Linked DNA regions of Homo sapiens: regions 2 and 3 are each linked to region 1. The links are contacts of gene promoters, found by promoter capture Hi-C in human tissues and cell types (Jung and others, 2019). All regions are on one chromosome and are shown on one strand. Each heading gives the region's core, a stretch centred on a gene start or on the middle of the fragment in contact. The rest is flanking DNA. Distances are from core to core; before and after follow the strand shown. Region 1 holds the start of KLHDC7A (kelch domain containing 7A). Region 2 has its middle 62 kb from the start of KLHDC7A. Region 3 has its middle 53 kb from the start of KLHDC7A.

The links. Contacts are between HindIII fragments. The study calls those that stand out against the background at their distance.
Region 2: a contact is called between a fragment that was not itself captured here and the fragment with the promoter of KLHDC7A in region 1, in 1 of the 25 tissues and cell types used here (H1 embryonic stem cells).
Region 3: a fragment that was not itself captured here is called in contact with the fragment with the promoter of KLHDC7A in region 1 in 3 of the 25 tissues and cell types used here (H1 embryonic stem cells, bladder and neural progenitor cells).

What each region holds. Positions count from the first base shown.
Region 1 is chr1:18,479,673-18,482,189 of GRCh38, forward strand. It overlaps KLHDC7A (kelch domain containing 7A), which reads left to right and starts at 1,258. Exons shown (of 1, transcript NM_152375.3): 1 at 1,258-2,517. The coding sequence starts at 1,310. RefSeq lists enhancers at 336-1,208, 1,209-2,080. The HindIII fragment of the contact is 16,937 bases long and covers 1-2,517 here.
Region 2 is chr1:18,541,844-18,544,360 of GRCh38, forward strand. No RefSeq gene overlaps it. Among named protein-coding and RNA genes, the nearest start is that of KLHDC7A, 62 kb to the left of the region's middle. The HindIII fragment of the contact is 9,649 bases long and covers 1-2,517 here.
Region 3 is chr1:18,426,718-18,429,234 of GRCh38, forward strand. No RefSeq gene overlaps it. Among named protein-coding and RNA genes, the nearest start is that of KLHDC7A, 53 kb to the right of the region's middle. The HindIII fragment of the contact is 8,650 bases long and covers 1-2,517 here.

The DNA of each region.
Region 1 (2,517 bases), core at 8-2,507:
ATGAGGCAATGCTGGGCCTGATACCATCGGCTGGGGTGGGGCGGACAGACGTCCTTACTTGTTCACTTTACCTACCCAGCCTCCATATGCAGCAAGAGTTTGAGACCCCTGCACAGGACTTTGGGGACTCTTTGAGGACCTTGGTCAGGAGAAGGGTAGAATTAGTTCTGTGCTTTGGAAGGTCCTCTGATGACAATTGATACTAGCGATGATGGTGCCGATGATCAGAAAGAGGAAAAGGAGGAAGAAGCAGAGAATAGTTCATATTTACTAAGCTTTCATGATGGGGGCTCTGCCCCAGTGTTTATTCCTAGTAGCCCATTTAGTTCTCCCCACAAGCTGATGAGGTGCGTATGCTGTCATCCTCCTTTTTCAGACAAAGCACAGAGCGGTGAGGTCTCTTGCCTAAGGTCATATAGTTGGTAAGTAGCAGAGCCAGGTAGTCTGGGTCCAGGACCCACAGCACTGGTGATGGGGGAGGGGAAATGGTGAGGGGGGGTCTGGGAGACGTGAGTCTTCCCTCAATCTTTCACCGTAGGAGATTGTCTGGTTTTAAAAGAGAAGATGTGTCCACATCTAACCCCGATCTGAGCACTAATGCAATGTCTTTCTCCACTGTTCTCAGAAAGGCTGGTTTTTCTTAATAAACTTGTCAGGCAGGGAAGGAGGGCAGAGGCACTCAAGGGCCGGCTCAGGTGGCTTGGCTGCATGCCCTGGCTCCAGACTCCACTGCCATGTTCCCGTTCCCTGCTTGGCCAGCATAAAGTTGACCCCACTGTGAGGACCAGCAGACCTCACAAGAATGACCCCATCCACGCCTACTGGGGCTCCACCTGCCCATGACTCACCACACCCAAGCCTCTGAGCCCAGTGGACTTGCAAAAGAGAAAATAAAGCACACACATAAAGAATAACCAACCCCATGCATTTCCTGGCATCGGGTGACTGTTTGGTTAAGAGCTTCCTCCTCTTTTGTATGCCCACTGGATACTCCTAACATCCCCTAGCTGCTGACCACAGAGCTGGCTTAGGTGGCTGATCACAAGCTCAGCCCCTGGGCGGGCCCCCCACCCCAGCCACCAGGGAAGCATGGAAGGAGGCCAGCCGCTGGGATCTGCCAGCTCTGGGCCCCAGCGGCCACCCTCTGCAGCTCAAAGTCACCTTTGCTCCTCTCCTCTCCTCGGCTGGCCAGCCAGAACCAGCCCAGAACTCCCTCCCCTCCGCTCAGCAGGACCCAGGAACTGGTCCCTACTGGGCAATTATTAATCAGATTCTTGACATTCCTCAGCCCCAGGTTGGCTGGAGAAGCATGTTCCCCAGAGGAGCAGAGGCCCAGGACTGGCATTTGGATATGCAGCTGACCGGCAAGGTGGTGCTGTCAGCCGCTGCCCTGCTCCTGGTGACTGTGGCCTACAGGCTGTACAAGTCGAGGCCTGCCCCAGCCCAGCGGTGGGGTGGGAATGGCCAGGCAGAAGCCAAGGAGGAAGCAGAGGGCTCAGGGCAGCCTGCTGTACAGGAGGCTTCTCCTGGGGTGCTCCTGAGGGGGCCAAGACGTCGGAGGAGCAGCAAGCGGGCTGAAGCACCACAGGGCTGCAGCTGTGAGAATCCAAGAGGCCCCTATGTCCTGGTCACGGGGGCCACTTCCACAGACAGGAAGCCCCAGAGAAAAGGCTCAGGTGAGGAGCGGGGCGGGCAGGGCTCGGACTCTGAGCAGGTGCCTCCTTGCTGCCCCAGCCAGGAAACCAGAACAGCTGTTGGCAGTAACCCTGACCCTCCCCATTTCCCCCGCTTGGGCAGCGAACCGAAGAGCTCCCCAGCTGGACTCATTGCAGCAGCCGACGGCAGCTGTGCCGGTGGTGAGCCTTCTCCATGGCAGGACAGTAAACCCCGTGAGCATCCAGGACTGGGGCAACTAGAACCTCCCCACTGTCACTACGTGGCTCCCTTGCAAGGCAGCAGTGACATGAACCAGAGCTGGGTCTTCACCCGTGTGATAGGGGTCAGCAGAGAAGAGGCTGGGGCTCTCGAGGCTGCCTCCGATGTTGACCTGACCCTGCATCAGCAGGAGGGCGCCCCCAACTCCTCCTATACCTTCTCATCCATAGCCCGCGTCCGAATGGAGGAGCATTTCATACAGAAGGCGGAGGGGGTTGAGCCCCGGCTCAAGGGCAAGGTGTACGACTACTATGTGGAATCTACCTCTCAGGCCATCTTCCAGGGCAGGCTGGCTCCCAGGACAGCAGCCCTGACTGAGGTTCCATCCCCTAGGCCACCGCCAGGGTCCCTGGGAACAGGGGCTGCCTCGGGAGGCCAAGCCGGTGACACAAAGGGTGCAGCCGAAAGAGCCGCCTCCCCGCAGACAGGGCCGTGGCCCTCCACCCGAGGCTTCAGCCGGAAGGAGAGCCTTCTGCAGATAGCGGAGAACCCAGAGCTGCAGCTGCAGCCAGATGGCTTCCGGCTCCCCGCTCCACCCTGCCCAGACCCGGGCGCCCTGCCTGGCTTAGGCAGAAGCAGCCG
Region 2 (2,517 bases), core at 9-2,508, 62 kb after region 1:
CAATGGTGTTATTCCCCCATTTTCTAGAAGAGGAAACTGAGACACAGAAAATGACTTGCTCGAGATCATGTGGCTTCGTAAGTGGCAGGTCCAGGATCTGTGCTCCTGTCTGCCTGACATCAAGACCTGCCCGACCCACCCCACCACCCTAGAACTCCAAGGACCTCAGTCATCACTGTCACTTACTGATGTGCCATTTGACATCCATTCTTCCATTTAACCCTCAAAACAGTCTTCTGGGACTGGAGACATGATGCTTGTTTCATAGACAGCAGCTTAGAAAGGCTAAGTGGCTTGCCCAAGACCATACAGCAAATTAGGGAAAGAGCCAGGATTAGAACTGAAGTCAACCTGACTTCAGAATCAAGGGCTTACCCACTACGACCTTGAAACACTTCCATTTATCTCTTTGCTTTGTGACCATTTAAATCTGGAGGAATCACATATTGCCATCCCTGCAATTCAAAGGCTGTTTTCCAGAGTCAGAGATCCTCCCCACCTAATCCATGTTGAAGGGGCTCTCCCATCCCTAGGAGGGGGATGGGGAGCGGAGAAGCCACCTCCCCCATCCACATTTACACACACACTCACACATCCGCACTCACACACTCACACTCCTCTGCCAACCAGCCATCTCCCAGAGCCAATTAACAAGGCTGGGTGGTCTCAAGGGAGCCCCACGGGGTGATAGACTTATTGATCCGCTAGAGTTGTGGAGTGTCAGGCCGGAGAGAGGAGTCATTTAGGCAGTGTTCTCTCTTTCTGAGTGCAGCAGGGACTCCGGGGGTGGAGAGTAAGTTGTATTTACTGTGACGGTAATTGAAAGGCAGCAGCAGCCACCCCACATTGTCCCCGGCAATACCTAATTGGTGGACCAAAAACTGCAGGAGAGCTGAGGCTGGGGCTGGGGGTGGGGAGAGGGAGAAAGAAAGTTAACATAGCCCAGAATCAATAGCAAAAGCTTTCACAGTGTCAGGCACAATTGATGGAGCTGAACGACTGGAAGCTGCAGAAAATTAGCCTTGAGGCTGACTTGGTTTGAAAGTTAAAAGCTGGTAAATGCAGAGACAGACGGGAGTTCCCGGCCACCCCTTCTGTTGTCATTTTTCTGGTGGCAACTGGAGGCCTGGTGCCAGCTCAGGGTGCACAGGCCTGGGGGAGGATGCATCAGACGGACTCTAATTTGGCCACCTGGTAAAGGACGCAAGACATGGAAAGGCTGCGGTCACCCATGACCTTGGCCCAATCGTGTCAGCTCACAGAGCTTTAGTTTGCTCATCTGCAGAGTGTGCACCTAGTATGGGAGTGCAGTGTCGTATGGTGGAAAGAACATGAAAAGACCAGGGTTTGAACCCCAGGTGTGCCATGTCCTCATGGTGGGACACTGAATAGGTGACTTAACCCCACTAGAAAAGGAGAATTGTGATACCTGGCTGTGGTAGGCTGAGAATGGACCCCTAAAAGATATTCACGTCTCAATGCCTGGAACTTGTGAGTGCTACCTTATAGGGCAAAATAAAAATGATTCTTTGCAGATGTGACTCAGTTAAGGATATTGAGATGGGCAGATTATCCTGGAGCATCTGGGAGGACCTTAAATGCAATCACCACTGTCCCTTATAAGAGAGTGGCAGAGAGATATTTTACAAAGACACACAGAGGAGGAGGTGACATGAAGATGGAGCAGAGGGTGATCTGAAGATGCTGTCCTTGAAGACTGGAGTGATGCAGCCACAAGCCAAGGAATACTGGCAGCCTCCAACACTGGAAGAGATTCTCCCCTAGAGCCCCTGGAGGAAGAACAGCCCAGCTGACACCTTGCTTTCTGCCCAGTGATCCTGATTTTGAACTTCCGGCCTCGGTAACTGTGAGAGAATAAATGCCTATTGTTAAAGATGCCACTTTGTGGTCACTTGTTATAGCAGCCTCAGGAAACTAATGCACCAGCTTTGCAGAGCTGGGAAGATGAGAAACGTGTATTAAAACAGCTGGCACATGGCAAAATTCAAAGCCGAGACATCACAACTCTCAAGCAATCAGCAGCTGTCAAGCTAGAGCCCAGGGCCCCGTTTTAAGGCCAGGTCTTCAGTTTCTACATGAAGCATCTGAAATTTCTCCAACAAGATTAATTGAGAAAATTATTATAATCTTTTGAGACAATAATAATTGGTCTCACTCTGTCACCCAGAGCTCGCTGCAGCCTTGTCCTCATGGGCTAAAGTGACTCTCCCACATTAGCCTCACGAGTAGCTGGGACTACAGGTGCACACCACCACACTCAGCTAATTTTTTTATTTTTTTTTTGTTTTTGAAAACAAGGTCTCACTATGTTGCCCAGGCTGGTCTCGAACTCCTGGCTTCAAGCGATCCTCTCACCTTGGCTTCCCAAAGTGTTGGGATCACAGGTGTGAGTCACTGCATCTGACTGAGAAAATTACATATTGTCTGTTTTCTTTTGCTAGAATGCAAGCCCCAAGAGGACACGTTTCTTTATTTTGTTCACCCATATACTCAAAT
Region 3 (2,517 bases), core at 11-2,510, 53 kb before region 1:
AAATAAAATATAATGTTTTTAGAATTTAAGACATTTTTGCCTGGGTGTACTGGTCAGACCAATTTATACTGTCTTTATGGGATGTTTTAGGGTCATATAACTGTGACTTCTATGATATTTTTGTATTTGTTTGATTTGTTTATGAGCTTATGCTTTGATTTTGACCCTTTGGATTCTGGGGTCTACACAAGTGGCCATGGTGAGGACTGGGGACATATGTGTGTCCCCACAGCCTGGACCGCATCCTCTCTGCCCCAGCTGTGCCTCTTGGTCATGCCTGGAAGGATCTAATCCCTTAGACATGGTCTTCACAGCTCTGTCCTCTGTCCTAGGCTCCAAGTCTGGTATATAACAACTCAAAATGCTTACTTCCTAGGTTTTTCACTAAAAATTACAGTTACTAAGAGTTAACATTGTAATTAATATATATATATATAATTAAAACTACTAGCTGTAAGAGAAGCAATTCTATATGCAAAGTATATAATAAAAGTAGAATGTGTTTTTCATTTAAAAAAGGATTATAAAAACATGAGAATGTGGTTTTTGTTAAAGGGAAAGTAGTTTTGCCTAGTTTAGAGGCTATTTACATGTTGTTTTAAATTGAAGGAATTTTTAAAATGATAGATAAAACTGAATGGATATGAAATGCTTGGAAAAGAAAAAGAGAAAAATTGTAGGAGTTTATAAAAAGTTTATAGAAATCTTGCGTGGTCAATGCTGATTGAGATTGGATGGATATATTAATAAGGTTTTTTAAAAATTAGCTTTAGTATTAATAATACACTGATACAAGGGCAGAATTTGATTCTGTCTCTCCCTCTCTCTTTTTAGAAACAGGAGCTCACTTTGTCATCCAGGCTGGAGTACAGTGGCACAATTAGAGCTCACTGCAGTTTTGACACCCTGGGCTCAATTAATCCTCCTGCCTCAGCCTCTCAAGTACCTAGAACTACAGACATGAGCCACCATGCTTGGCTAATTTTTAAAATTTTTTGTAGAGACAAGTTCTCACTATGTTTCCCAGGCTGGTCTCAAACTTCTGGCCTCAAGCAACCCTCCTGCCTCGGCCTCCCAAAGTCTTGGGATTACAGATAGAGCCACTGTGACCAGCCTGATTTTCTCTTTTGAACAAGATTTTCATGTAGTATTAATAAGAGGTAAAAGATTTTTGTTCGCCTTTTGAATAATCTGCAAAAAAGTACAGAAGGGGAGAGAGGGAGAGACAGATTCTGTTGTTGTCATAATGTCTTTATTAGGTGTTTTGATTGTTTGGAAAACTGAGTCTCCTCTCTATCAAAGAGCAACATTTTTGCTTTTTGAAATATTCGAATTATCACTTGGCTAAATAAATTACCTTTTTTTAACAGTGATCTATGATCCTGTTTTGATCAAGTGTTTTAAACTTTTCTCATTTTGATATCAAGTGTGTTAAACCCTTGATATTTAACATGCTTCCCCAAATCAAATCTTAAATCCTAAAATTTAGACTTTTTGACCCCAAACTAATTTGGATATTCCATATAGGGTCACTGGAAGTCCAAGAGAAACATACTAGGCTTATTTGGTATGTTAAAATCACACCGGAATTATTGTCAAATAAGAAATGGGATTTGACTTTTTTTGAGTTCTACTTTTATGGATATGTTATTAACCCATTTATGCCTGAGGTTGCAATTTTTTGAATTTTTGCAATCAGACCTTGGTGATGACCTTGAGCAGTATGATATAAATAACCCATGTGCTTAGTGTTCCAGTAATGGAACACTAGGCATAAATTGGTTTAATATGTGTTCAAAAATTGCATGACATTTGTGGTATGTCTTAGTATAGGCAGTAAATTGCTTTAGTTTGATGCTTTATTTTCTAAAAGCACTTGGCAGATCCTAAAGTGTTGAGTCTTCAAGGCAATTCATGGAAAGGACTCTGACAAGTAATCTTGAATACAGGTTTCCAATAACTTTGGAGATTATACTATTGGACTAGATAAAAACTTCCAGAACTGTAGTAAAAAGAAAAACAAAACCTGATGAGTTCATGAAGATTCCTAATTCAAGATCAAGCAAAACTAGAATTAATTACATTGGATTGAACTGATAGAGAATTAAAATCATTCTTATGGCTTTGGTTTGAAATATTGCGGATCCTTTTTGTGTTTTGTTTTCTAGAGTCAAGAAATTCTTTTTTTTCTTTTGAGCTATTTATAGCATATAGCAATTGTGTAAAATATACTTTTGTGAACAAAATTGAAACATTTACCCTCCTCTCTACCTGATTTCTCCAGAATTCAGGAATTATAAATATCCTTATTTTTTGGCAATATAGTTACCTCCATAAATTCAATAAGGATCTATTTTCTTACATAATAGGACATGTTGGAAACACTGGTTATCTTACTAAAGTTTTGACTGAATATCATATTTTCAAATATGAACAGACTGCTTTGAGGGATTAAGGTTGACTTTTTAAAGCCAATAGGCTTGGGAAAATATCGACCTGGTATCTTGTCTACACAGT